2 separate regions of the Homo sapiens genome follow, and region 2 is linked to region 1. The links are contacts of gene promoters, found by promoter capture Hi-C in blood cells and fetal thymus (Javierre and others, 2016). All regions are on one chromosome and are shown on one strand. Each heading gives the region's core, a stretch centred on a gene start or on the middle of the fragment in contact. The rest is flanking DNA. Distances are from core to core; before and after follow the strand shown.

The links. Contacts are between HindIII fragments. The CHiCAGO score rates a contact against its expected background, and 5 or more counts as called.
Region 2: a contact is called between a fragment that was not itself captured here and the fragment with the promoter of GNA13 in region 1, in 1 of 17 cell types (M0 macrophages). The highest score is 5.1, in M0 macrophages.

The regions. Positions count from the first base shown.
Region 1 is chr17:65,053,623-65,061,334 of GRCh38, forward strand. It overlaps GNA13 (G protein subunit alpha 13), which reads right to left and starts at 3,118. Exons shown (of 4, transcript NM_006572.6): 1 at 2,689-3,118; 2 at 1-106. The coding sequence starts at 2,971. RefSeq lists silencers at 2,356-2,615, 2,896-3,405. The HindIII fragment of the contact is 5,158 bases long and covers 73-5,230 here.
Region 2 is chr17:66,449,427-66,457,138 of GRCh38, forward strand. All of the region lies in intron 2 of PRKCA (protein kinase C alpha), which reads left to right. Among named protein-coding and RNA genes, the nearest start is that of PRKCA-AS1, 36 kb to the left of the region's middle. The HindIII fragment of the contact is 1,715 bases long and covers 3,724-5,438 here.

The DNA.
Region 1 (7,712 bases), core at 1,868-4,367:
GGGGCCCGGGTATCAAACGACATCATCTTATCTCCATGTTGTTGGTTTGAGTTGTCTCCCCAGGGAATATGAAGCTTCTCTCGAGCATCAACCAGCACCCTCATACCTTTGTTTAAAAAGAAGAAAAAAAATGTATGGAGAGGAGTCATTACATATTATCATAAGTTTTTATTCCAGTATTATTTCCTTATACTTCTGAATTAACCTAGACAAACCTTCTTCAAAAATGAAGACCAACATCGAAAACAAATGTAACTTCTCAGAGGTTAAAAAAAATAACAGTTGCTCACTGTCTTAAAATTAGAGCCTTGAAAAGCAAATACTATTAGCACAATTCCTCTCTCTGAAGGATTTTTAACATGTTCCAATTTATAAAATAACTTCTAGGATAGAAGGTAGTCAAAAAACAATCTAACTCAAGAAAGAAAAAGAAGTTATGCTGCACAGACCAACAATGTCCAAGCTCAGAAGAAAACAGACACAACCAAGGTTTTATGAGCCTAAAAGATGTTCATTTATGAAACACTAAGAACCAACTACTATAGCTCCATGTTCTGTTTGTTGCTTCGGCACCCTAACCCAACATTGAGTCTTCTAGCAACACATTCAAAATTTAAAAACTTCTTCCAGCCCAAGTTTCAATCCAGTTTAAGTTACAGGATGGCCTTCAATTTCCCTAAAAGGGAGGAAGATCAACTGCAAAATAATACAAAGTCGGACTCCAACTCACAGAGGTTAGTTGAAACTCATTTTTCCTATCACTGATCTATTACTTTTATTAAGTTTGATCAATCTGAACAGTCACTTGGCTATTAGGAAGTCATCTGAATAACTGAAAAACGGGTGGGGTTTTTTTGTTTTTGTTTTTTAATAGAGACGAGGTCTGGCTATGTAGCCCAGCTGGTCTGGAACTCCTGGGCTCAAGCCATCCTCCCACTTTGGCCTCCCAAAGTGCTGGGATTGCAGGAGTGAGCCACCACGCCCAGCCTGAGAAACTGTTCTACTGTCAAATTTCATGTCAACTTGAAAAAACTAGATTCCTGATGACTTACATCATCTCATAATCAATGCTCAACGTAGATCACACTTACAACTCAGTGTACATTAAGAACGAGGTGTTTACCAGGCTCACAGTCAGTTAACATGTTGATGCTATTCATTAACATAATTCCTTAAGTTCAGCTGCATCAGGTTACAAAGGTACCTTCAATTAAGGACTGTCAAGGCAGAGTCTGCAGCCTTGAAAGAGACCTTAATTAGTTTTGAGCTAAACATTACAGCAGGATAAATACAACTGTTCTTTATAGTTTAACTGCAGAGGTACTAGGGCTAGAGCTGGCTGTGGTCTAGTGATTCTCTCTAATTCATTACTCCATAATGCCTGGCTCTTCAGGCAGTTTTCCTTTACCCAAACGCTGGAAGCTCGGGAGGCGGTTGGCGGGGAGGGGGCGGGGGGGTGACATGCAGAAGTCCCTTATGTACTTCCTGAACAAAAATCCCACTTAAAAAGACCTGCAATCTGTAGCAAACTCCTAAACTGCTCCCCAGATAAAATAAAATCCAGATGCACCTGAGTTACCAGGCGCTGCACCTAAATTTTGCCAAAATGCCTTTTCTATAGAACATACTTGACACGCAGAAACGAGTGTTAATTATCTTTCAAATGACAAAATAAAAACCATCTTTTCGATTTCTTTGAATGCCCAGAAATAAACAACTTGTTTATTTTTCACTTAAGAACAAAGTTTAATTTTAAAACTACTGTCAATAAAGAGCCGAGCCAATTATCTAACTCAACACTCATTCATTGTCTCCATCTGTACAGGATCCACATGACTTTTAGGCCAGTCTTCTTACTACTACATTTCATCTAAATAGAAGCAGTGGTACTCCCTTCCTGCCAGCCCCCAGTTACTTAGCGAAAAGGAGAGTGGAACGTGTTGCACAGAAATCACACGCAAACATCCTACCTGACCGTGACACTGGGGCGAAAAAGCACAGATGCTACATTTTCATGCTAACTGTATGGGTCCACTCTCTCCTGATTCCAGTACAGTCAACCTGACACTCCTCAAGTTTCATATTCTCGCCCAAAAGGAGGCTGTCACCCTACGCCCTTGACAAGAAGTCTCGGGCAAAAAGTTCCCTTATTGCGACGGTTCCAGAACTCGCTTGCTTAGGAGACGGCCAAGGAAGCAGGGAGTTGGGAGCGCATGCGACCCCATGTGACTCGGGTCACCCAGCCAGGGTAGCGAGGTTCGGCCCACATCGCCCGAGCAGGGGATGGGGGTGAAGCGGCTAGGGCTGCTATTGGTGTTCCTGCCTCATCCGCAGCGGGGAGGACAGGAGAGGTCTGCCCACACCCCGAGGCAGCACCCAGCTCGCCCCACTTCCCTCTCGCAGGGGGAGAGACCAGGACGCGGTGGGGGGTGGGGGAATGGCCGTGACGCCCACCGGGGAGACAAGCGGGAGAGCAGGGCGACCCCGAGCATCCTCTCGCCCTGGGGCGCGAGGGCACCCCGGGCGGGCAGGGCCAGTTGCCGGGGCGCGCCCCCTTCCCGCCAGCCCGCCCGCCGGGCCCGTTCCTTCGCCAGCGACACAGCGGACCAGGGCGGTGCCCCGCCCCGCACCCGCCGCCGCCCCAGCCCCCCTGCCCTTAACCCCCGGCCCCCATTCCCGGCCCGGCACCTTTGATCACGTTGCTGTAGATGGTGGGGCGGAACTCCTCGCGCGCGCGCTGGTCGAAGTCCTGCCCGTGGATGATCCGCATCTGCTTCAGGAAGGTGGACTTGCCGCTCTCGCCCGCGCCCAGCAGCAGGATCTTCACCAGCCGCTTCACATAGGTCTTTTCCCGAGACAGGCATTTGTCGATCTCCTTGGACTTGCGTTGCTGCTCGGCCTCGCCACTCGTCAGCAGGCAGCCGGGGAAGCACACGGACAGCACGGACCGCGACGGCAGGAAGTCCGCCATCTTGCCGCCGCCGCCGCCGCCTCGGCGGGCCCCTCCGGCTCCCTCCACCTCCTCCTCCGGCGGCGGGCGGCTCCGGCACCGAGGCTCGAGGGCGGGGAGCGCGGCGGCGGCCCGAGCGCGCCCAGGGAGGGAGGGAACCAGCGAACTGACTCGCAGGGCGGGCCGGGCAGGGCGGGCCAGGACAGCGGGGGAGGGAGGGAGGGAAGGAGGGCGGGCCCGGCCCCGGAGGGGCGGTGGCCCCGGAGCGTGCGCGCTCCCGCTGCCTCCCGGAGGCGCGCTCGCACGCCGCGGCCGCTTCTCCGCCTCCCGCCCTGGGCGGCGAGTCACGAGCTCGATGTGTCGCTCGGGTGCCCGCGCCCGCAGCCGCGGCCGGGCGCGCGGGGAGGGCTGAGGAACCGCGGTCACGTGGGCCAGGCTGGGGAGCCCGACTTTCTGTTTCCCTTTCATGGCCTGAGCCCACTTGTGGGCAGAAGGGCTCCTTCCCCAAGGCCGGGAGGCCGGAGACCAGGTCCCGGACGCGGTTCTTTGGGCTCCCACTTAGCCTCCCTTTCTCCCGCGTTGCGCGCCCGCTGCCCGCTGTCACCGCCCACCCGACCCATTTCGAGGCCACGGACTCGAAAGTTATTCGAACAGAACAGCCGGCGTGAGCCTGGCAGGCCTTTGGTGCATTTTCTTTATTTCATTTTATTTTTTCTCTTTTGAGACGGAGTCTCACCCTGTCGCCCAGGCTGGAGTGCATTGGCTCGATCTCGACTCACTGCAACCTCCGCCTCCCAGGTTCAAGCCATCCTTCCGCCTCAGCCTCCCGAGTAGCTGGGAGTACAGGCGTGTGCCATCATACCCGGCTAAATTTTTTGTATTTATTTTTAGATACAGGGGCTCCCCCCTATGTTGCCCAGGCTGGTCTCGAACTCCTGAGCTCAAGCGATCCTCTAGCCTCGGCCTCCCACAGTGCGGGGATTCCAGACAGAGCCACCAGGCCCAGGCCTGGTGTGTTTTCTTAAAGTGACTCCCTTGACCTTCTAGTCTCCGAATCCCAGAACGGTAACCAGACGTCGTCCACCCCCACTTCCAGCTCTTTCTGGCATTTTCAGACCCCTACCAGGGCTCTCTGTGAGGGGAAAGAACTGGAGTTGATGTTCACTTGAGACGTGCTACCAGGGGCATTTAATGGCTCACTCGTGCATTCCACCTGGGCTGTGATGTGACTTCAGGGACGCTTGGCCGCGCCGGAATTAGCGAGTGGCAGCAGGAGGGTGAGGTCATGGTGAAAATCCCCTACACCGGACACTGTGATGTAGGCTCTTCCCAACAAGGAAGCAGATACACAAACACAACGAGGAATGGGAGCACGCAAATTTTAGCTTTCCTGCCAGATTACAGAGGATATGACCCGTCCAGGGACTTTTTTTCTGTCCTAACAGCAGATTCAGGCCAGGACACCTGAAAGGAGGCCAGGAGACAAGCCACAAGTGACAGCTGTGGGTTGGCAGAGAAACTGCTTAACCGGGACCCCCGAGAGCCGACCTCTTCATTCTTAGTATTTAGTTTCAAGTGGAAAAAGCCACTTTGGTCTGTCCCTGTTTTGGGCAATGCAACGTAGCTTTGGGCTCCTGTGGCTCAGAAACTTCGTATGTATAAGGGAGCGGAGGTAAGAGGTCAGCATTCCAAGAAACTCCCGAACAGGTTTAAATTTTAAAATCGGTACTAATCAGTTACTCCCTGGGGTTGGGTTAATGACCGAGAAGCCTCGACTCAGTAGATTGGCTGCAGTAAACAATGCCTGTAGTAGGATTATCTCCTGTGGCTCTGGCAAGCCCAGAGGGTGGACAACCTACAATATACAAGTAGAGTAGGCTCACCTCCAATATCTGTGGATTGATAAGAGTCAGAATCACTGAGCAGTGCTGTCAGGCAAAATATATGGTAAAAGCCTGCCCTGGATGGAGAATTTTTCCATCATCTCATCTAGTGTTTGGGAGGCCCTGTTCTCTAACCATGCAAGGACTCGCCTCTCCCAGGATTGGGGCATAGAACCTGTCCCCGAGCACTGTTTCTGCATTGACCCCAGGTGCTAATCTGAACTCCAACAAAGAGGAGAGAAACTTGTAAGTTAGGTAGTTAACATCTTTTTTCAGAAGTGTGTGTAATATAATGGAAAACCAAGAATGCCTAGGAGGCAGGAAGGTATTCCTGCCCAGCCAGTTCATGTCGTGACATGCAGAGCAGCAGAGAAAGCTGTTTAAAGCCCTGCGTGTAAGCTTGCCTTGGAACAAACTTGGCTCACATCAAGTCTGGCTGTTCTAGTCAGTGTAGTTTTTAAAAAGAGACCTCTTTGACCTGAAAGTCAAATGAAGGAAGAAGAAGAAGAAGGAGGAAGGAGGAAGGAAGAAAGAAAGAAAAAGAAGGCCGGGCACAGTAGCTCATGCCTGTAATCCCAGCACTTTGGGAGGCTGATGCAGGCAGATGACTTGAGCCCAGGAGTTCGAGACCAGCCTGGCCAACATGGCGAAACTTCATCTCTACTAAAAATACAAAAATTAGTGGGGAGTGGTGGTGGGCGCTTGTAGTCCCAGCTACTCGGGAGGCTGAGGCAGGAGAATTGCTTGAACGTGGGAGGCGGAGGTTGCAGTGAGCCGAGATCAGGCCACTGCACTCCAGCATGGGTGACAGAGTGAGACTCTCTGTCTCAAAAAAAAAAAAAAAGAAAAAGAATGAATGAATGAAAGAAAGAAAAAGAGACCTCTTTGGGTCCAACCTAGGGGTTTGGCTGCAGCTGTCCAGCTTCTTCTAACTGGTGATCAAGACACCTTGTAAATTGTAAACATAAAAATGAGTTAGAGACTTGGTGGTTTCTCAAAGAGGTGAACATAGAATTGCCATATGACCCAGTAATTTTATCCTGGGTATACCCCCCAAAATACTAAAAAGAATTGAAAACAGTGTTCAAACAAAAACTTGTATACCCACGTTCATGGCAGCACCATTTATGGTAGCCAAGAGATTAGCCGGCTGCAGTGGTTCACGCCTGTAATCCAAACACTTAAGCCAGGAGTTTAAGAGCAGCCTGGGCAACATGGTGAAACCCTGTCTACAAAAAAATATATAAAAAGTAGGGGAAGGCGGTGTGCACCTGTGGTCCTAGCTACTCAGAAGGCTGAGGTGGGAAAATCGCTTGAGTCCAGGAAGCGGAGGCTGCAGTGAGCCAAAATTGCACCACTGCACTTCAGCCTGGGGAACAGAGCCAGACCCTGTCTCAAAAAAAAAAAAAAAAAAATAGCCAGATGTGGTGGCACATAGCTGTAGTTCTAGCTACTCAGGAGGCTGAGGCAGGAAGATTGCTTAAATGCAGGAGCTCAAGGCTACAGTGAGCTATGATCATGCCACTGAACTCTAAGTCTGTGTGACAGAGTGAGACCCTATCTCTAAAAAACAAGACACAAAGAGGGGAACAACAGACACTGGGACCTACTTGAGGGTGGAAGGCAGGAGGAGGGAGAGGATTAAAAAAAAAATACCTGGTCGGGTGCAGTGGTTCACACCTGTAATCCCAGCACTTTTCGGAGGCCGAGGCGGGCGGATCACCTGAGGTCAGGAGTTTGAGACCAGCCTGGCCAATATGATGAAACCCCATCTCTACTAAAAATACCAAAAATTAGGCGGGCATGGTGGCACGCGCCTGTAATCCCAGCTCCTCAGGAGGCTGAGACAGGAGAATTGTTTGAACCTGGGAGGCGGAGGTTGCAGTGAGCCGAGATCACGCCATTGCACTCTAGCCTGGGCAGCAAGAGCGAAACTCCGTCTCAAAAACCAAAACAAAACGAAACAAAACAAAAAACATATCGCATACTATACTTATTACCTGAGTGACTAAATAATCTGTACACCAAACTCGAGATGAGCAGTTTACCTGTATAACAAACCTGCATATGTACTCCTAAACCTAAAATAAAAGTTAAAAAAACCCACAACAACAAAAAAGGAATAGCCAAAAGGTGTCCAAATGTCCATCGATGAACGAATGGATAAACCAAATGTCGCATATCTATACATTGCAATTATTCAGCCATAAAAAGGAATGAGGTGCTGACACATGCTGCAACATGAATGAACTTTGAAAATACTAGGCAAAGTGAAACAAAAGGCCCCATATTATAAGGTTCCACTTATGTGAAATGTCCAGAATAGGCAAATCCATAAAACAGAAAGCAGATGGGGTGAGGGAAGTTGTGGGGAGACTGCTTAACGGTACAGAGTTTCGTTTTGGGATGACGAAAATGTTTTTGGAAATAGATAGTGATGATGGTTGGAGAACATTGTGACTGTACTAAATGCCACTGAATTCTACACTGTAAAGTGGTCACATGATTAATTTTATGTTATGTGAATTTTGCCACAATAAAAAAATGAATTGGGGAAAAAAATCTATATTATATATTTGTAATATATATAATATAAATATATATTTTTTATTTTATTTTATTTTTAAATTATTATTATTTTTTTCCAAGACAGAGTCTTGCTCTGTCATCTAGAGCTAGCATGCAGTGGCGTGATCTCGGCTCACTGCAACCTCTGCCTCCCGGGTTTAAGCAATTCTCCTGCCTCAGCCTCTGGAGTAGCTGGGAACACAGGAGCTGCCACCATGCCCTGCTAGTTTTTGTATTTTTAGTCCGCCTCCCAGGTTCAAGCAATTCTGCCTCAGCCTCCCGAGTAGCTGGGATTACAGGCGCCGCCACCA
Region 2 (7,712 bases), core at 3,331-5,830, 1.4 Mb after region 1:
CAAAATTATTTCAGCAAATAAGTATAACACTGCTCTTGTTTATATTCTTTCAATTGAACCTCGCTGCCCAACCAGTAGTACATCCTCAGCCTTTTTTCCTCTCCCCAGATAGCTCATCTTCACGATCCCTAGCACAGCACTAAATGCAAACAAAATGTCCTTACATGTGAGTCAAGTACAGTTTAGTCTGGAGAAAAGGCCCCTGTGTCTGAAGCTGTTCCTTCTATGAGCCAAACATCAAGTGTTCAAGTCAGAGGGACTACACAGACCAGGACAGGGGGCTGGCTTCCAGGGCTGAGGTTGTTGCTGTAATTGTTTTTGGGTGTGCACCTGCAGCGCCTGTGTAAAGGTGGAGACAGTGGTGGGAGGAGTGAAATCTCCCACCGTGGTTGGATGCTGGACGAACGGCCTCAGGTGTAGGCAGCTTTTTTGTTGTTGTTTTTTTGTTTGTTTTGTTTTGTTCTGCCATGCGCTTCAGTTTGGAAGCAGCCTATATTGTACACGTTGATTACTTTGAAGAAGTGATTTCTTATTTTGCTTCATGTTCATTTTCAAGGAGGTATACCTTGGGGAGTGGGAGTGTTTTTTGTTTTTGTTTTTTTTTTAAGCATTGTTTATAGCCACAATAGAATGTCATTGGAAAGAGTGGAGGCTTTGGAATTACATTTTTATCCCATACTAACTGGGTGACCTTTGACAAGATCGTTAACTCATACTGAGTGGAGTTCCTGTTTCATGCTGGGAATCATGCTGGGACCTCAAAGACCTCCTGTTCTGGAGAGAGAGATGCTCATCGGGGGCCAGCAGAGCCAAGTTCACAGGACAGAGCAGGGATGCCCCAGCCAGTCTGCAAGAATTGGAACAGCTTGGTGGAAGAGAGACACAGTCCCTCTTAGTCACAGTCTCCTTGTCTGGAAGTAGGGGCAATGGTACCGCAGAGGGGTGGTACTGAGTGCTAAGTAAAACGAGTTAGAAATGCCTTTCACAGAGTCTGATGAATGAACGTGGGTCCCCATCTTTGGTACCTGAAGACGGCCATGTCCCACAGGTGTGTGGTCAGAGGGTGCACAGTTCACAGAAGGCCTCCACAGTGAGGTGGGATGCAGGTGGAAAGAGAAGTCCCAGGAAAAGGGAGGCAGGGGAGGAAACAGAAAGCTGCGGTTGGAAGAAGACCTCAGCACAGGTGCACTTTTTCTCTTGTGGATTAGTTATTACCGGATGACTTTCATCCACACACTTAACACTCTCTTTGCAGGGACAGTTTTGGGGAAGGGTAGGCGTCTGCTTTCACAGAAGGTAATTACCGCAAAAGCTGGTACCAGCTCATGCTGTTCTGATGTTTTGGTTACGCAATCATGGGCCCCTGTACTAGTACATTTGTCTTCATAAGCTGTGCTGAATTATTTTTTAAAACCGCTAACTGATGCGATTAGTAAAACATTTTGGTTTTTAACTTTTGATGAAAATAGCACTGTTTGGAACTGTGATGCAGGGGTTTACTGCTGAGTGAAGTTCTAGAATTTTGCTGAAAGTAACATGACCTGCTCTGTGGGTCTCACTCTGTCTCTCTGTTAAGATTGTTGAGTGAATGGAAGAAAAGGAAGACTTGGTGTGTTTCCAGTGATCTATAAAGAAATGATGAAGTGAATATGTTCTGTGGATCTCTGTTCTCTCTTTGACTCTATTAACCAAGTAATATCTTAATTTAAAATGATGAAATTTAGGAAATTAGACATTGCTATTCATCTTAGAAGGGAACAAAGTATCCATGCTGGTCTAGTGAAGCCACATATTAAATCCTCTTAAAACTTAAACTGTGCCTTTTTTCCAGATTTGATCTACGTGTGGATATTCTAATGATTGAATATAATAGGATTCCATTCTTTAATTTCAAAACTTTTAGAATACGGAGTTAGAATTTATTTATTTATTTATTTATTTATTTATTTATTTATTTATTACCTAAAACAAGTTCAGTGGAAGATGCTTTTTGATTATTATCACATTTTGGGCTTTTGTTTTTGGTAACATGCAGGCCATATATGAATGAAATTTTGCTCTTTCACAGAATGATATGAGCATCTGTTTCTTCTAATTAGAATACATCTACAGGAGAAGAGGGATTTTAATTTTCATGTTGTAGCGAATGTCTAAGGGTTGACCGGGTATTTTGGAGGAGTAGTTGTACTTTGATCATATTTGTATTTGCTTTTCTGGTCAGGAGCCTGGATAAGGAAGCGCCCCCTAACGGGTGGGTGGAGCAGAGGGAGTGGGGCGAGAGATGGAGAGGAGGGGCCGGGGCAAGGAAGGATCCCTAGGTCTGCCTTCCTGTCCACAGCACTGCCCGCCAGCCACAGCTCCTGAGTCAAAGGCTCTGAAGCAAAGTTGTATGATGAACCTTGGATTTCCTGTACAATTTGGCTAACTCTAGGGTGATCTCTAATAAAGACAAAGGCCAGGGGACAGAAATATCTTTCTTTTGCTCCTGGCAAATCCCATTTTGATTCTATCTCAATCTAACTGTCCAGAAAATTGGATTGAAAGCAGGACACCGCCGGGAGGTAAATCAGATTAGGGCTTCCTCTACCACAGCCTCCAGCAGACATTTCATTTTGCAGTGTGCGTCCCTCATTTATATGAAGCCGTGTATGGCCCCTCCATGCAGCAGGGTGCGTCCAAGCTGACCCAGCGAACCAAGACATCAGGTGACCCTCCAATTTGATTCACTGAAAATACTGCCGGTGGCTTCATTTTCTCCAGAGAACTGTCTGCACCTCTGTTCCTTTCTTTTTATTTGGGTGCCTATGATGACCTCATTGAAGTCTTCATCTTTTTCTTAGCCAATGTAGCGTTTGCTAAGGAGCCAGACCTCAGATAGGAATGGAGAGCCCCAGAATCCAGGTGCAGCACAGGTGCTTCCAGAACCTTCTATGTGGTCCCTTCGGGAAAGGATCATCTGTTTTTGTGAGGCTTAACAGGAAGACAGAACTAGGGAAGAAGCAGGGTGAGGAGGGAGAAGTGCAGCTGTGTATAGCGAGAATAAGGATCTGCCGAAATTTATCTTGGGGTTTTTATTTCCTCTTGAAATGTTGTGCGTTCTGAGAACCTCGAGGAGTGTTTTTGTTGCCTGATAGGAACTGGCCCGGCTTGTTCCTATTGCACTGAAGCCTTCAGGAATGCGGCCTCTGCACCTGTGATGAAAACAACATCCAAGAAACCCACCAGTGGGTTCCAGAACTTCCTTTCTACAGTGACTGTTTGGGTCACAAAACATAACTAGACAAAAAATTAGCTGGGCGTGGTGGCGGGTGCCTGTAGTCCCAGCTACTCAGGAGGCTGAGGCAGGAGAATGGCATGAACCTGGGAGGCGGAGCATGCAGTGAGCCGAGATGGCACCACTGCACTCCAGCCTGGATGACAGAGCGAGACTCCGTCTCAAAAACAAACAAACAAAAAAACAAACAAAACACATAACTAGAAATTATGAGGTTTATAAGGGCTGGTGTCTTAACCGCAAGTGCCTGTTTGAACCCCCATTGAGCTTGTAGCATCGAGATGTGCTGTGTGTCACATTCAGCCACATTTGTACAGTTGGTGGCATTTAGGAGTCCTGCCTGGAAGGCCAAGAATATTTTTCCCCACAGTGGCTTAGGAAATGGAACTGGAGCCCTCATTCCCCTCACTTCCCACTGGCTAGGTGGTCACGGATGTGGAAATATCCCAAGCTTGAAACCACTGAAGATGGAGCTCCTGACTTGGAACAGAGGCTCTGGGGTAAGGCAGGCATTGGGGACTTGAGGGAATCCCAGGAAAAGACTGGGAACTAGAACCCATGTGCCCTCGTACAGATCCACAGTCCCCTTGCCTTGGGTCCCGTGATCCTTTTTTTCTTTTTTTTTTTCTTTTTTTGAGATAGAGTCTTGCTTTGTCACCCAGACTGGAGCGCAGTGGCTTGATCTCAGCTCACTGCAACCTCCACCTCCTGGGTTCAAGCGATTCTCCTGCCTCAGCCTCCTAAGTAGCTGAGATTACAGGCGCCCGCCACCATGCCCAGCTAATTTTTTGTGTTTTCAGTAGAAACGTGTTTCGCCATGTTGACCAGGCTGGTCTCGAACTCCTGACCTCAGGTGATCCGCCCACCTCAGCCTCCCAAAGTGCTGGGATTATAGACGTGAGCCACTGCGCCCAGCCCCCCTGATCTTTAGAACTGCCCTGCTTGCCTCCCTTTGCGCCGCCCTCGTCTGCTGTAGGTCGAATTGGTTTAAGAGCTGGGCATCCACTGGGGAGAAAAATCAGAGTAGGGCTTCCTGGGACTCTTCTGGGTTGTTCTGACTAACATTGGGTTTTACTCAAATTTTCTCTCCCTGATGTAAACACGCAGATATTTTTTAAGGTTTTAAGTGTGACCATTTAGCTTACATGCAAGTCAGAATACTTTGGGTTTTTTCAGATCCAATAGCAGGAGCATCCAGGCTTTTAAAGCTGTGGGATATGATTTCTGTGTATTTGGGCTAAATTAATTTGTTTATTGATAACCTCAGTTGTTATCATGCTAAACTGTCAGAATTGGATGTGAAGCCAGTGCTTATGTAGACTTTATTTATGTCTGGCTTCTTTCTGAAAACAATTCCTCCTCATGCCCTAGTTTCATGTTGTGATTTTAGCAGAATTAATCTGAAATGACTCAAAATTATACAATTAATTGCATTCAGCTTCAATTACAGTCTGCTGGATGAACCAAGCCCACTGCCCTCTCTGGGCAGTCACTTGCATGTGGCAGCTTTGTAGGTGCTAAGGCCCTGTGGACTCCCTGGTCAGTGTGCTGGCTTCCTGGGGAAAGCATTTTGGGGTTGACAGTCCCAGGGGCCTAATGCCTCAGTTGCAGACAAATGCAGGCTGGACCTGGGGCTGCAAAAATGCCAGGTAACAGCAAAGACCATGGAGGTGAGTGTCATGGAATTTGGGATAAATGATAAAACATTCTTTTCTTTTTTAGTAGAAAACCCAGATTTGGGTGTTTAGGGTTGGAGAAGGCAGGATCTGGGTAGGTGTATTAGTCTGTTTTCATGCTACTGATAAAGACATACCCGAAACTGGGCAATTTACAAAAGAAAGAGGTTTAATGGACTCACAGTTCCATGTGTCTGGGGAGGCCTCACAATCATGGCGGAAGGTGAAAGGCACATCCACATGGCAGCAGACAAGAGTAAGAGCCAAGCGAAACAAGTTTCCCTTTCTAAAACCATCAGATCTCATGAGACTTCTTCACTACTACGAGAACAGTCCACCATGATTCAATTAATAACTCCCACTGGCTCCCTCCCCCAATGTGTAGGAATTTACGGGAGGTACAATTCGAGATGAGATTTGGGTGGAGACACAGCTAAACCGTATCAGTAGGTTTAAGGTTTGGAAGGTGGCCAGCCCCAGGGCAGAGAAGCTTCTACTGGAGATTCCTTCCTTTCTCCTTTTTACTCTGTGCAATTGTGGGCCCTGGGGTGAGCCAGGTGAGGGCAGGTGCCTGACCACAGGATGGAAGGGCCGGCAGATGGCGGACCCAGGCAGCAGTGGAGGGAAGGTGGGGGTTGAGGGGATGCAGAGGGCTGAGAGAAACTGGGGATGGAGGGAACTGTGGTCGACGCAGCTATAGGTCTGGACTTATTTTTCCCAGATGAGGAATATCTTTAAGTCCACATAAGTGAGTCAGGGACTGCTTGTATTCAACTTGTGCTCCTTTGAAATGTTCTTATTCTCCCCACGAACTGACTTTCATTCACACCGTCTATTTGGCAATACATGACCGAATTTGGAGCCTAGTTCTTTTTGGCAAGAAAAGTTCATTAATTTTAGTCGGCTCCCCACACACTTCACAAATGTGCTTGAAAAAATAAAGGGCCTCTTATCGCCACACAGCTGCCACGAAATTGCCAGGAGTGCTGAGTGCTCACATATAGAAGACGGCCATTTATGTTGATGCTGTGAGAAGAAAAGGTCCCCCGAAGCACTTTGAACTGGAGCTGCCAGGAAAATGATGGTAAATGCAGAAGCATCAGCGAAGCCATAGGCTTTATGATCATTTATCATTCCAAATTTCTAAGGATTATCTTCATCTCTTTTATTCTGTAAACACTGATTAACTTTTAAAGGTGATGGAAGTCTGGCTGAGTCAAACTTACTCATCCATCAACTTAGTGGACTTGGAGAAAAGGCCCTGCTGTGACATTTTGATTAACTGGGATCTTACCTGTGTGGGGTTTTCTTTCCACTTAATATCTAAGAACACAAGGGTGGGAAGAAACTTCAGTGCCTGCCTGCCTTCTGCTCTTTTCCTCATCTGTAAATGAACATCTGAGAAGGGAGTGAGACGTTCATATCAGCCTGTGCAGTAGGCCTAGCTACACTCATTTATTTGCTCTCTCTTTTCTGATTTCTCTCTGTACTGGGCTGAACAATGTTCCCTCAAAATTCATGCTCGTCCAGAACCTCACAATGTCACCTTATTTGCAAATAGGGTCTCTGCAGATGTAAATAGTTAAGGTGGTGGTAGATTAGGGTAGACACTAAATCCATTGACTGTTGTTCTCGTAAGAAGGCCAGGTGAAGACACAGAGACACACAGGAGGAAGGCCACGAGATACTGGAGGCAGAGATTGGAACGATGCATCTACAAACCGAGGAATGCCAAGATTTGCCAGGAGCCACCAGGAACTAGGAGTGAAAGATGAGGAACAGATTCTTTCTCAGAGCTTCCAGAAGGAACCAGCCCCATCAATGCCTTGATTCCAGACTTTTGTCCTCCAGTAGCAATTCTGAGAATAGATTCCTGTTCTGAGTTACCCAGCTTGTGGTACTTTGCTGGGGCAACCCTAGGAAATGAATAAACTCATTGTACTTCTGAGGTGTCTTTGTTCTCTTTTTAATACCAGGTATATACTGCTGCTCATTCTAAATTTCCTCTTGTCCAACCCAAGTTTAAGAGCCGTAAGTGGCCTATTCTAAGTTTTCTTCCCATCCAAGGCTCTATAAGAGGCCATTGCCCCAAACCAAGGGTTTGGAATAGTCAAAGATCCTGCCCAGATGTGATGCCCAGGTGTTCTCAGCCGTGGGTTTGGGGATGATAGATCTCTAAAACTCTCGAACATCTAGACTTTAAAATTGTCATCCCCTGTGCTGGCTTCCAACCACAGGTTCTGTGCTGCTTCCAGCTCCCTTCTCTGCTGTTGGAGATTATTTGGGGACTGACTGCGAGGCAAGTGAATGAAATAGATGGCAGAAAAGACAAAGGCCAAAAAATCCGCTGCACCTACTGGCTTCCCAGATGGTGTCCAAGGGATGAAATAGCTTGAGCCCTGGGCCACACCATATTTCTGTCCTGACTGTAGCTGTTTTGCTAAGGAGCCCGTACTAGCCTTGGAGGAACAGCTTTCGATGCTGCAAGGAAAGCACAGAGTGGGGATAGCTGATGGGAGTTGTTTCAGTGGTTTAGGCTGACTTGGTGATTCTAGGTATGCCTTAGGCCAGTGGCTGCTGCTTCTTCTGTACATGAATGTCATGAATGTCTGAGTAGGGAGTGAGAGGTTCATGTAAACCTTTTATGTTGTAGGCCCAGCTGTGTGGCCATGGGAGGGTGCTTGGCATGATTAGGATGGAAAACTTTTTTGCCTACACTGATCATGCCAGAGCGATTTAATATTTCAATAAGAATTTAAGGG